3 separate regions of the Homo sapiens genome follow, and regions 2 and 3 are each linked to region 1. Evidence: promoter capture Hi-C in human tissues and cell types (Jung and others, 2019). All regions are on one chromosome and are shown on one strand. Each heading gives the region's core, a stretch centred on a gene start or on the middle of the fragment in contact. The rest is flanking DNA. Distances are from core to core; before and after follow the strand shown. Region 1 holds the start of PLEKHH2 (pleckstrin homology, MyTH4 and FERM domain containing H2). Region 2 overlaps PLEKHH2 (pleckstrin homology, MyTH4 and FERM domain containing H2). Region 3 overlaps THADA (THADA armadillo repeat containing).

Region 1 (4,666 bases), core at 883-3,382:
AATATGAAAGCCTGATACTTGCTTACTGGACTTTTAGTTGTATTCACTTATTGCTTTTCCTCTGAGAAACTTTGAAAATCTTTATCTCTTTTGTGGTTTTTTCTTTCCTTTTTTTTGAGACAGAGTCTTGCTCTGTCACCCAATCTGGAGTGCAGTGGTGCGATCTCAGCTCACTGCAACTGCTGCCTTCCTGGCTCAAGCGATTCTCCTGTCTCAGCCTCCTGAATAGCTGGGATTACAGGCGTATGCCACCATGTTCAGCTAATTTTTGTATTTTTAGTAGAGATGGGGTTTCGATATGTTGGCCAGGATGGTCTCAAACTCCTGACCTCAAGTCATCTGCCCGCCTTGGTCTCCCAAAATGCTGGGATTACAGGCATGAGCCACTGTGCCCATCCTCTGTGTGTGTGTGTGTGTGTGTGTGTGTGTGTGTGTGTGTGTGTGTGTGTTTTATATAAGATGAGATAAAGTTAAAAAAAAAAAGATTGTAGTAGAAAAAGTTTTTCTGATACTCTCTATTGGCCAACTGTGAACCAAAGAGAATAATCTGTCTGACCTAGCTTTGTGACCTGGGGAACGATTATCCATAACATTCAGAATTCTCTTTATTTTACCCTGAGATTGACCTCTCCAGACCCTAAGTTGGGATGTAAAATTCACCTGGATTTAAATTATCACTAATTTACTTATGCAATATGCTCTGTGCTGAGGAGAATGCAAAAAAAAAAAAAAAACCACAAATCCTTGTTTTCAAAGTGCTCACAGTCTAAAAGAGATGTGAGGAGCTGTGCATAAGGCAGAGGGAGCTAAGCCCCAAGAGAGGCAAAAATCTAGATGTTCAGGGAGCAGAAACCAGAGAAGACCTTTTTTTTTTTTTTTGTCTCAGATGGAGTCTTGCTCTGTAGGCAGGCTAGAGTGCAGTGGTGCTATCTTGGCTCACTGCAACCTCCGCTTCCCAGGTTCAAGCGATTCTCCTGCCTCAGCCTCCCGAGTAGCTGGGACTACAGTCGTGCACCACCACGCCCAGCTAATTTTTGTATTTTTAGTACAGACCAGGTTTCACCATGTTGGCCAGGATGGTCTCGATCTCTTGACCTCGTGATCTGCCCTCCTCGGCCTCCCAAAGTGCTGGAATTACAGGCATGAGCCACTGCGCCCGGCCCAGAGACGACATTTCTGCCAGGTGGAGCGACAGACATAGTTACATGGAGAAGATGATGATGATGATGATGATGATAATGATGATGATTTGAGACAGGATCTCGCCCAGTCGCCCAGGATCCAGTGCAGTGGCATGATCGCGGCTCACTGCAGCCTCCATCTCCTGTGTTTAAGCAATCCTCCAGCCTTAGCCTCCTGAGTAGCTGGGACTACAAGTGAGCGCCACCAAGCCCAGCTAATTTTTTTTTTTTGTGTGTATATATATATATATATATATATATTTTTTTTTTTTTTTTGGTAGAGACAGGGTTTCACCATGTTGCCCAGGCTCGTCTCGAACTCCTGGCCTCAAGTGATCCACCTGCCTCGGTCCCCCAAAGTACTGGGATTACAGGCGTGAGCCACTGCGCCCGGTGAGAAGATTATTCTGAGCTTTTTGAAGTGGAGACAGGAAATAGCATGTAAACGCTCCTAGTGCCACTTCCTTCGGGTGGCGAGGTGCACAGCAGTAGTCTCAGGTGTGTGAAGGGCAGCTGTGAGAAATAAACCTGAAAAGACGGGATGGAGACCTTGAACACTAGACTAGGGAATCTGTTCTTGATAATTTAAGCAAACGGAAGCCAATGAAAGTCTTTGGCACACTGTTCATCAAAACTGCTCTTAAGGAAATTAACCTGGCAGGAAGATGAAGGGTGGATTGGCAAGAGGAGAGACTTCAGACTGGGAGACCAAGGGAGGGTGCTGCAACAGTCCAGGCAGACGGAGTGGAATGAAGGTGACCGGCCGCTGCAGCAAGCTCTGGAGTCTCGCAGTTGGGACGTTAGGGGTACCACTCCAGGACAGAGCTCCCTCCTGGGGCAGGGACTGGGAGGAGCCAAAGTTATAGCCACACCCCCGGTGACGCCCGGTGGTCGGCTGTGGTCTCCCATTGGCTACACCGGCTGCCAGTCCCTGGAGGAGGCGGTGCCCTTCCCCGCCCTCTCCGAGCTCGGCTTGAGGCGGGCGCGGGCTGAGAGTCCGGGGATCCCGGGGGCCAGTCGCGGCCGGGACATCGGGCGCTGCGGCCGGGGACCCGCTGCTGAGATAGACAGGTGAGAAAGCCCGGGGACGAGGGGCCACTCCAGAGTTCCTGCCACCCTGGGATCCCCGCCCCCTTGAGGGCGCCCCGTCCAGGGGGGCTCGCGGGGCCGAGGTTTGGGGCGCCGGGAGGAGCGGGAAGGCGGGGACGAGAGGGACGGAGCGGGCTGACTCGGGATCCGCCGCTGCACCTCCCGCCACAGCCCAGAGTCGGCCCCCAAGTCTGGATGTCGCCGGGAGAGGTGGGCAGGGGGCGGTGGCCGGCGGTCCCTCGCGCCCGTGGGCTCCCGTGACGTTCTGTTTGGAAACACTGGGCCCGGGCTTCTGGCGCGGCGCGAGCGGTCCCGGGGGCGCAGCGGGGCAGCCCAGGGTCCCCGAGCCGAGGGACCCGCGCGGTCAGGGATGCCGCGCTCGCCTTAGGCTTCGGGAGATCCACCAGGATCTCCGGGGCGAAACTTTAAACTCAAAACTTTAAAGAAGCATTTTGTACACCTCGAGTTGCTGGCACGTCAAAGCACCCTAAGGTGACCTACCCGGAAACCACTGTCCCCGAAGTTAGTGGGGCACTTTTTAAAGGACAACACTTTTTACCCGTCGATATTGTTGTGCGTAACGCTGTGGAAATAGAAGTCGAACCACTTACATTGGAAAAGCTCTGGTGGTGGGCTACCTGAGGGTCACTGCTTTCTTTGTGAAAATGCCAGTCTTGGAAGCCTGGCCCGCACAGCGGTGTGTCCCAGAGGAGTATGTAGTGAGGAGCTCGGCTGTTCTGGGCAGGGTCACCGAAGGGCAGGCGTTGCCCAAGTGGGGCTAGGTGGCTAGGTGGTGGTCAGAAGGTTCCTTAAACAAGGCATGCCTCAGTCTCGTCGAGAAAGATCTTTTAACACACACACACACACACACACACACACACACACACACACTCACACACACGATTACCCAGCCCAGTTAAGCTGTCCCTTAAGAGGCAAAAACTAAAGAATATCATAGAGACTAACGCTGCGCTTCATCAGGGTAAGCCTAAGTAGAATAATTCTTTCATTTCTTTTTCTTTCCTTTTTGGGATTTGGAAGAGAAACAGGAAGTCAGAGATTCAGAGAAAAGAGCATTCACTCCACAATTGTAAACAGTTTATCTTATGTCAGTAAATACTTCCAAAAATCACTGGGGGTATTTGGAACTCCAAGACTTTTTCCTGTCCCCTGAAGTGAAGATAGATTATTTTCAAATGCAGAATCTAGACATGATAGATTCCTTTCAAATTCAGAATCTATATGTGGTATTTTCTTTATTTAGCAGTCGGCTATGTTATATAGTTATATATATATTCCCAATGTTATATAGTTCTATAACATTAGTGGTAATGAAAAGGATGGCGGATATTGTTTAAAATTAGAATTTTTAACTACCCAAGATGGTGCACTAATACAACAGTTGCTTTGTACTTGTTAACTAACTGAAATTACAGAATGAAATGAGGGAATCAGGTGTCTGGATCTCAGTGCAGACCATTATCCAACCAATTTGCAGTTCTGATTTATTATGACCCATTAATAGGGAATGTAGATGTTAAATGCCAATTTAATAATATTCTTAAGGCTTTGCTACTTCACTATAAAATATATAATTAGCATAACTAAAGAAATAGGTATGTTTGACTTTGAATTAATTTATTATGTCATCATAGCAAAGTGCGCTAGGTAAGATATATGTATGATACTTTTCATATTTGGGGTTAACAGTTACCTCTCAATTTTTTGAGCTAATTGTGAAATTCTTGGCAGGGATAACCACAAATAATGGTTGATTAAATTTGTAAATGCAGTCCTAGTATACATCCATTTAAACTGCGACTTTTTCTTTAGTCATTTGTAAATATGTGATCTTTTTTATTGAGATCTTAATATAAGTCACAAACTATAAGATTTTTCCTTTTAAAGTATACAGTTCACTGGGTTTTGGTATATTCACAAGGTTGTATAGCCATCACCAATATCTAATTCTAGAATATTTTCATCACCCCAAAAAGAAACCCCCTATCCATTGTAGTCAGTATCTGCTACCTTCTCCTCACAGCCCTTGGCAACCACTAACCTACTTTCTGTCCTTTGGATTTGCCTCTTATGGACATTTCATGTAAATGGACTCATACAATATGTGGCCTTTTGTGTCTGGCATCTTTCACTTAGCATAATGTTTTCAAGGCTCTTCCATGACTATAGCGTGTATTAGTACTGTATTCCTTTTTTATGGCCGAATAATATTCCATTGTATGGATGTACCACTTTTTTTTTTTTTTTTTTTTTTTTGAGACAGAGTCTCACTCTGTCACCCAGGCTGGAGTGCAATGGCAGGATCTCAGCTCACTGCAACTTCTGCCTCCTGGGTTAAAGCAATTCTCCTGTCTCAGCCTCCCTAGTAGCTGGAA
Region 2 (4,666 bases), core at 1-2,500, 44 kb after region 1:
AAAAGAAAAAAAAGGCTTAAATACAAAATTATTTCTCCTAAGAAGTGCATATGAAATTCCTTATGCTTCCTCTAAGTTTGTCATGTTTCCTTCCTTCAACTTGAGTACTACCAAATCTTTTTCCTTTTTAATTTTTATTTTAGAAGGGTAAGGAGTCTGGCAACAAGGCTTTCCCCGTTGCTGCACTGCTGTTCTTTCCACTAATTTTGGAAGTTGCAGTGTCTGTTTGTTTAGTGGTTTGGCTTTCTGGCTGCTCAAAATTGAAGTCAAGTAAGCCTTCCGAAGGAAATTTATCACTTGTAAATCTTTCAGAAGGACCTCTATATGTGGCAGCCGTACAAAGTTTGTCATTCCAAGTTTCTCATTTTCTTGACACTACCAATTATATCTTTCTTGATTGTATTTGCTTGACTTATTTGATTTCTTGTTCCATAGCATAGTCACATCTTCCATTTGACAAGTAGAATTTCTGTTTCTGCCTGGTTGAAATTTATGTCCAGGGCCACTTTAGTTGCAATTATTTTTACTACATACACTGGATTTCTAGTTTCCGTTACTGTTGTTCATATGCCAACTGGAAAAGTCACCTGTTCCCTCAGAATGCCAACTGGAATTCCTTCCTGTACCATTATGATTCCAATCTACTGTTCCACTATTTGAATGCCAACCAACTCCAGAATTACTATGGTTGTGAAACCAAGTCAAGGAGCCTCCTGCAACACTCTAATGCCACTCAGAACATCCTTTTGGTCCACCACTATTCCTCAAAGAATACAGAAAGCTGTTTCTCCATGTATTATTAAAGCGATCTTTTTTCCAATTACAATCCTCCTGTGGAGGTCCAGGGTGATGCCATGCTGGCTGACTGTAACTCTGTCTGTGTTGGTGAGGAATTTGGTGTTCTCAGCTCCATTGGGGTCACCTGTCATCAGAATTTACTTCTTGGCTGCTACTGGAAGGTTCTTGTCGACTTTGTTCTTTCCTTTGTTTTATTAATTGAATGAGTTCCTTGTCAAAATAATCTTCTTCCTCTTCCTCTCCTTTTCCATCATCTTCTCTTTCCTGGGCATCAACGTTATCTTTGTGCAGCTGGCCAGAAATGTGCTTTGCGTATGCAGAAAGACTCACTTCTGTGGGCCCGCACCTTCGGCACTCATGACTAGTGCCTCTTTTTGGAGCTGTACACGATATGACACAATATGCATTTTTGTTCTCCTACCATAGTGACCAGATCTGAATCACTCAACCAAACGCTCTTACTCCATCAGGCCACTGAGGGCCAGGCAAGGGAGCTCCCTGATGCCCCAGACACCCCATTCAGTTTCGGGTCTGAGAGCCTACTCTGGACCCTCTCCCCACCAGGCCCCATCACCCTCAATTTTTATTTTAGATTCAGCAGATACATGAAAGTTTTAATTTTATAGGGTAGAGTAAGTGCCTAATAGATTTCTAAATAAGCCCAATGTAGCCTAATCTTTGATTTTTTTAATTATGCTTGAAAAGGAAATCTTACAACTTTATTAGGCAAGACTTTAAGCACATACAAGAGTAGAGAAAATAGTATAGTGAACCCGCATCACCCACTTCAACAATTAGTCAAGTCATGCCTCATCTGTACCTCCACCCACTTCCCCTGCCCCCCTCACACTGGACTATTGAAAAGCAAATCCCAGACATGGTATAATTTCATCCATTATTATATACTATACTAATCTGAAACCAAACACCCTTAAAAATCATAACCACAATACCATCATCACACCAAAAAATTACCAGTAATTCTTCAGTATATCAAAGATCTAGTCAGTATTCAGATTTTTCCAAATAGCTAATAATTGCTTCTGTGTTTTGTTCTTTAATCAAAGTGGAATTCACATAACATAAAATTAACTTTTTTTTTTGAGACAGTCTCACTCTGTCACCTGGGCTGGAGTGCAGTGGTGCCATCTCAGCTCACTGCCACCTCCACCTCCTGAGTTCAAGCGATTCTCCTGCCTCAGCCTCCCGAGTAGCTGGGACTATAGGCACCCACCACCACGCCTGGCTAATTTTTTGTATTTTTAGAGAGATGGGGTTTCACCATGTTGGCCAGGCTGGTCTCGAACTCCTGACCTTGTGATTTGCCCCCCTTGGCCTCCCAAAGTGCTGGGATTACAGGCATGAGCCACCGTGCCCAGCCAAAATTAACATTTTTAAATGAACATTTCAGTGTTGTGTACAATCATCACCTTTATCTAGTTCCAAAATGTCGAAAGGAAACTCATCTCAAAAGGAAACCTTATTCATTAAGCATTTAGTCCCATTTCCCCCTCCCACTAGCCCCTGGCAACCACCAATCTGCTTTCTGTTGCTATGGATTTACCTATTCTGGATATTTCATATAAATGGATTTATATACTATTTGATCTTTAGTGTCTGGCTTCTTTCATTTAGCAGAATGTTTTTGATATTTATCCACGTTGTAGCATGTGTCATGCTTTATTCCTCATTATGGCTGAATAATGTTCCATATATACACACACACACACACACACACAATTTGTTTATCCATTTGACTTTTTATGGACATTGTCTTTTTATGGACTTTCACTGCCCTCGATGTCTCCTGTGCCCTACCTATTCTACCTTTTCATCTTTTGACTATTGTGACTAGTGCTGTTAAGAACGTACATATATTTGTTTGAGTACCCCTTTTTAATTCTTTTATTTATATACCCTTTTTTTTTTTTTTTTTTTTGAGATGGAGTTTTGCTCTTGTTGCCCAGGCTGGAGTGCAATGGCACGATCTTGGCTCACCACAACCTCCGCCTCCCACGTTCAAGCCATTCTCCTGCCTCAGCCTCCCGAGTAGCTGGGATTACAGGCATCCACGCCTAGCTCATTTTGTATTTTTAGTAGAGATGGGATTTCTCTATGTTGGTCGGGCTGGTCTCAAACTCCTGATTTCAGGTGATCCGCCCACCTTGGCCTCCCAGAGTGCTGGTGTTACAGGTGTGAGCCACCTCGCCCGGCCCTCTTTTTTTTTGTTTTTAATAGTTAGTTTGTTCAAATTGGGATCTAAACTAGATTGATACATTTCATTTGATTCTTAAACTCTTTTAATTTATAGGGTCTTTTTTCCTTTTTTCTTTCAACTTATTTGTATGGGTTAATTTGTTCTCTAAAGCTTTCCACATTCTGGAGTTTGCCTATTGCATACCTATGATGTGATTTAACAAGCTCCTCTTCCCCTATATTTCCTGTAAAATATAGTTAGATCTAAAAATTTGACTTTTCTTTCTCTTTTTTCAAGACTACTTCTTGGGTGATATTGTTGACCTCCACCAGGAGGTGGATGTCTAGTTATCTCTCTCTCTCTCTTTTTTTTTTGGTGATATTAGCAGCCATTGATTACCTTGTTTAAATCAATGATTTCATCAGGGAGGTTATTGCTTTTTTAAAAACAGACTTTAATTTTTAGAGCAGTTTCAGATTTACAGCAAAATTGATGGTGTATGAAGTACAGAGCTTTCATATATCCTCTCCCCTCCAACACACATTCAAGCTTTCTTCACCATCAGCATCCAACACCAGAGTGGTACATTTATTACAACTGATGAACCAACACTGACACATCATTGTTACCCAAATCCCATAGTTTACATTAGTGTTTACTCTTGGTGTTTTATGTTCTATGGATTTTGACAAATGTATAATGCTGTGTATCCTCTTCTATAGTATCATATAGGATATGATACTATACTCCCCTTCCTTTTCCTTCTTTTCTCCTTCCCTTCTTTTCCCCTTCCTTTCCCTTCCCTTCTTTTTCCTTCATTGTCTTGTGTTTTCTGACTTTGGCCTTCCTAGTAGCATCTTTCTTTACCTCTGTACCCTGGCTGTGTCTATATGTCTCTATATGTAATCTATCTGTTCTTCCCTATCTTTCCCTTCCCTTCCTTTCTCTCCTTTAACTGCCCATATTATGGGAAAAAGAGAAAAAAATTGAGGATGGTTTTGTTTTGCCTTAATTTAAAATTCTTAATTCATAATATGTGGCAAATTTGTTTGTTTTTGAAAATTAAACTAAATTAAGTATTTTTTATTTGTGATTTTCAACTATCTACACCCGCCCCCCACCGACCCCTGCCCCACCCCAATTCCTTGGGTCTTATGAGATCCAGTGAGGAGTCTTTAAAAAAGGATCCTTGTTCCCGATTCAAGGGAAGCAAACCACAGAGGTTTGTTGCCATCAGGGCCAACCACTGGTCTTGGTAAGTTTGACAGGAAGGACTTCTCTCCTTTGAAGTTGTTCTTTGAGGATGTTGGGTATAAAGTTATTTAATTCTATGTGCTATATCTTTAAGCAAAAATACACCAGGATTGGTTATTTTAGACATACTGCTACTCCCATTACCAAAAAAAAAAAAAAAAAGAGAGAGAATTACAAATCTCTCAGAGTTTCCATGTGTTAGCAAAACCTGTAGGCATTTCTTTTTGTCACAACACTTTAAATTTATTTACTGCATATTTTGTTACACTTCAGAAGGACTTTTTTTCTTTACAATTACTTCATAATCTAAAAGTCGACAGGAAATACAGACAGCAGATGAATTCTCATGCACTGATGAAGTCACCTTTTTTGGCCTTTGCAAGACTAAGTGTTAATAACTTAGAGTAACTGAATCCT
Region 3 (4,666 bases), core at 1,183-3,682, 48 kb before region 1:
AGAAACTTAAAAGAGCCAGTTCCAAAATGACTCATACAAGCCATCAACTCATGGAACAAAATAAAATAATAGGACTTACCATTTTTAAGCAGATTATTAACACTTGCTCTACCTGTAGAGGAAAAAATGAACACTGGTAAGGAGTTTCACGACCAAAATCAATGTCATTTAAAAACTATGATGTGATGAGAGGGGTTAGCCAGAAAAAGGACTAGAAAAGTGCAGCCTTACCCAAGTTAAAGTTCTCCATACAGGAAGAAATATTGTCAGTAACTTTCCTGTAAGAGTATAAGTCAGTAGTATTCAATTCTTCCTGAAGACGAGAAGTAAAACGGTGCATAGCCTCAGGTAGAAAAAAATCAGGCAGGCTATTTAGTGAGCTAGAAAAAGAAACAAATATTAAAAATCTGACAATCTAATAGCCCCAGAATATGTGGAGAGGGAAGAGAATCATACAAATGTGGGAATACTGAACTAAATCTTCAAAATACAGCCAGAAAACTACAACTACACACTACCATCACTCGAATTTCCTGGCTTGTCAGCACATCTGGTCTCCCTGCTTCCACCTTGCTTCTCTCCCATCTCCCAGATTATTCTCAACAGAACAGGCAGAGTGACACCGTTAAAACACCATGTCACTTCTCTTACTAAAACCTCCAACAATATCCTTCTCGGTTAAAGTACTAGTTGAAGTGTTTACAGTGACCTACAAGGTCCTCCCGATACAATCTGGCACTACCATTAGCTCCTGACCTCATCTTTATTTATTTTTTTTCTTTTCTTGATTTTTAAAATGGCATCTATCACAATCCTGACCTCATCTTGATCTTTGTTCACTTAGCTCTAGCTACATGGCCTTGCTCTGTTCTGACATACCAGTCTTTGCTTCTGCTGTTTCCTCCATCCAAAATACTCTTCCTTCAAATATACCCAGCAATCACTGCCTCATCCCTTTCAGGTCAATCTCAATTACCTTATCATGTCTGAGCAAAGCTATATGAAGTGACCATAATATTTTAAATTGTAACCCTCACCCCATCCTTTATGTCCCCTTTCCTTCCTTCCCGCTTTTAGATAGCACTCATGCCATCTAATATCCTATAAATGTTACTTATTTATTTTGTCTATTTTCTATCTTCCCCTTAGAATGTAACCTCCATTCTGGACTGTTTCATTCATTCTACCCCCAGTTCCTAGAAGAGTGCTGAAACACAGTAGGCAGTCAATAAAAATTTATCAAATGAGTAAATTAAACATATCAATTTTGCCTCAATTTATATACATCAAAACTGATTGGCTTTGTTTTAAATATAACTGGACAGTTCAAAGTTTTTCTGGAAGAAAATAATTCAAAAATGGGAATATTCAGAATAAGAAGAGTCACTAGAGGGATGACTTAACACTGACATATAATTAAAACACTTTATCAAACTATAGTAAATAAAAGTGTGGTGTTGGTGTATGAATAATTGGACCTAACTCAGAAATCAAACCCATGTATATATGTGAACATATAACACAATAAGGTGGCATTCCAAATATGTGGGCAAAGATGGACGATTCAACAGTTTGGGTAAGTGGTTCCCCATATAAAAAAGAAAACTAAATTGAATCCCTACCTCACACTACATTCAAAGCTTAATTCCAGATGGACATAAAAGTTGAGCAAAAAAAAAAAAAATAGTATAAGGCCTGCAAATAATGTTTTAAATAATCTTGTATTACAGAAAGCACATATAGCAAGGTATAAAACTCAGAAATCTACATACACAAAAATTAGCTGAATTGATAACCAAAATAATATTTTAATTTTTGTAAAGACAAGACACCATGAGAAAGTTAAAGACAAGTAACAAAGGAATGTATTTGGCATATGATCTATAGAGAAGTCTTATAAATCAAGAAAACATTCTAACAAGAAAATGTACAAAGAATATGTAATAAAAAAAGTCAAATTCCACACATTAAAAAATGTTCAATTACACTAGTAATCTGGGATACACAAATTATAATGATAGCATTTTCCTTCATTAGATTTTAAAAGATTTAAAGATTGATAGTATCCAATGTTGGAAATATATGAAGAAGAAACAAGCATTCTAATTCAATGGGTAGTCTGGGGGAGTACAATTTAACAATATCTACCAAGAATTTCAATAGGCCTAATTTTTGGTCCAGAAATTCCACTTCTTGGAATTTATCTCAGAGAAATACACATATATAATTATATACATAAGAATATCACTGCAATGGGGAAGTGATTAAATTACTTTATACCATGTAATATAAATCATGTAATATGTACCATATATAGATACATACATGTCATATATATGGTACATTTAAATTTTGGTATATTCATATTACAGAATATTTATAGCTGAAAAAGTAAGGACTGCTGGTGGGAATGTAAAATGTTGCATATGGAAAACAGTATGACAGTTGCTCAAAAAATTACAAATAGTATTACCATATGGTCCAGCAATCCCACTTCTGGGTATATATCCAAAGAACTGAAAGCAGGATCTCAAATAGATATTTGCACACCCATGTTCATAGCAGCATTATTCACAACAGGCAAGCAGTGGAAGCAACCCAAATGTCCATTGAAAGATGCATGGATGAAAAAAATGCAGTATATGCATACAACAGAATATTAAGCCTTATAAGAGAAGAAAATCCTGTCATATGCTATAACAGGGATGAACCTTAAGGACATTATGTTAAGTGAAATAAGTCAGTCACAAAAATATAAATACAAATATTACACTAATATGAGGTATCTAAAGTAATCAAATTTATGAACGGAAAGTGGCTGCCAAGGGCTGAGCAGGAAATGGAGAGTTGTTACTTAATGTATACAGTTTCAGAGCTTAGCAGATGACAAGGTTCTAGAGATCATTGCACTGCAATATGAATACACTTAACAATAGCGAACTATGTACACTTAAAAATGGTTAAGACTCAAACATCATATGTTCTCACTCATAAGTGGAAGCTTATCTATGAGGATGCAAAGGCATAAGAATGATACAATGGCCTTTGGAGACTCAGGGGAAAGGGTGGGAAGGGGGTGAGAAATAAAAGACTACAAATTGTTGGGTACAGTATACACTGCTCAGGTGATGTGTGCACCAAAATCTCAGAAACCACCACTTATTCATGTAACCAAGTACCACCTGTTGCCCAAAAACCTATCGAAATGAAAATTAAAATTTAAAAAAAAAGAATTCATAAAAAAAAAAGGTTAAGACTGAGTTTTTATGTTATATGTCTTTTACTACAATTAGGATTTTATGACATGGAAATATCTCTAAGACATTCTTTAGTGAAAAAACAAGCTACAGAGCATTCTGTAGAGTATAATCTCGTTTACAGATATATATAAAAAAAGTAGAATGTAACACACATATGCTGACCTCAAAGAGAAGGTCTAGAAAGATAAATACCAAAACGGTAAGTGACAATCTTTACTAAGAAAAGTAAGATAAGCCCTAAACAATGAAATGGAAGCCTTAGTTTTTATTTTGTATAGTTCTATATCATTTGAAATTTTTATACCAAGCCTATATTCCTGTGTTATCTGTGTAAATATATATTTAAACCAAGAACAGATAGGACAAAAAGAGGAAAAAACAGCAAGATGACATTTAAACATAACCAATAAATGTAAATGGATTGAGGCAGGAGTAAGCAAACTACAGCCCACAGCCTGTTTATTAAGCATGTGACCTAAGAAGGCTTTTTATACTTTTAAAAAGTTGTAACTAGGCTGGGCGCAGTGGCTCACACCTGTAATCCCATCACTTTGGGAGGCTGAGAAGGCGGATCACAAGGTCAGGAGATCAAGACCATCCTGGCTATCATGGTGAAACCACATCTCTACTAAAAACACAAAAAATTAGCCGGGTGTGGTGGCTGAGGCAGGAGAATGGCGTGAACCCGGGAGGCAGAGCTGACAGTGAGCCAAGATCGCACCACTGCACTCCAGCCTGGGCGACAGAGCTAGACTCCGTCTCAAAAAAAAAAAAAAAAAAAAAATAGTTGTAACTAATCAATGAAACAGAGAACAAACCATATGAATGAACTTTTTGTGATCTGTATCAGTTCAGTTTTATCAAACCAAGGAAGGAACTTCAGTTACTTTTGGTCAAATTCAACATTTATAACACCCAACTTCCCTTCCTTTTTTTCTTACCTTGCCAATACTTTCTTCAAGGGATTCTTTAGACTCAAAGAAAGATAAATGCCTGCTAAGATATCCAAACAACTTTGAATAGTGGGATCACACATGCCATTTTTATCTGCTTTCTCCAGCAGAGGCACAATCTATAATACAAAACATTGAAGTAATTTTTATAATATCAAATATAGCAAAGTAACATGGTTACAGATACTCTTTGAAGTCTCAATTGCTGGGTACAGTGGCTCACCCCTGTAATCCCAACACTTTGGGAGGCTGAGGTGGGCAGATCGCTTGAGCCCAGGAGAGTTCGAGACAAGCTCGGGCAACATGGTGAAACCCTGTCTCTACAAAAAAATACAAAAATTAGCCAGGCATGGTGGCACATGCCTGTAGTCCCAGCTACTCAGGGGGCTGAGGCAGGAGGATTGCTTGAGCCCAGGAGGTTGAGGCTGTGGTTGAGCCAAGATCACACCAGTG

What was found. Contacts are between HindIII fragments. The study calls those that stand out against the background at their distance.
Region 2: a contact is called between a fragment that was not itself captured here and the fragment with the promoter of PLEKHH2 in region 1, in 1 of the 25 tissues and cell types used here (liver).
Region 3: a contact is called between a fragment that was not itself captured here and the fragment with the promoter of PLEKHH2 in region 1, in 1 of the 25 tissues and cell types used here (aorta).

Annotation. Positions count from the first base shown.
Region 1 is chr2:43,635,128-43,639,793 of GRCh38, forward strand. It overlaps PLEKHH2 (pleckstrin homology, MyTH4 and FERM domain containing H2), which reads left to right and starts at 2,133. Exons shown (of 30, transcript NM_172069.4): 1 at 2,133-2,252. RefSeq lists a silencer at 2,037-2,366. The HindIII fragment of the contact is 17,439 bases long and covers 1-4,666 here.
Region 2 is chr2:43,680,426-43,685,091 of GRCh38, forward strand. The region is part of intron 3 of PLEKHH2 (pleckstrin homology, MyTH4 and FERM domain containing H2); the gene reads left to right. It also overlaps the pseudogene LOC100421122. Among named protein-coding and RNA genes, the nearest start is that of C1GALT1C1L, 6.3 kb to the left of the region's middle. The HindIII fragment of the contact is 4,210 bases long and covers 1-3,355 here.
Region 3 is chr2:43,586,623-43,591,288 of GRCh38, forward strand. THADA (THADA armadillo repeat containing) reads right to left here. Exons shown (of 38, transcript NM_022065.5): 4 at 4,202-4,332; 5 at 232-380; 6 at 80-112. Among named protein-coding and RNA genes, the nearest start is that of THADA, 7.1 kb to the right of the region's middle. The HindIII fragment of the contact is 4,219 bases long and covers 324-4,542 here.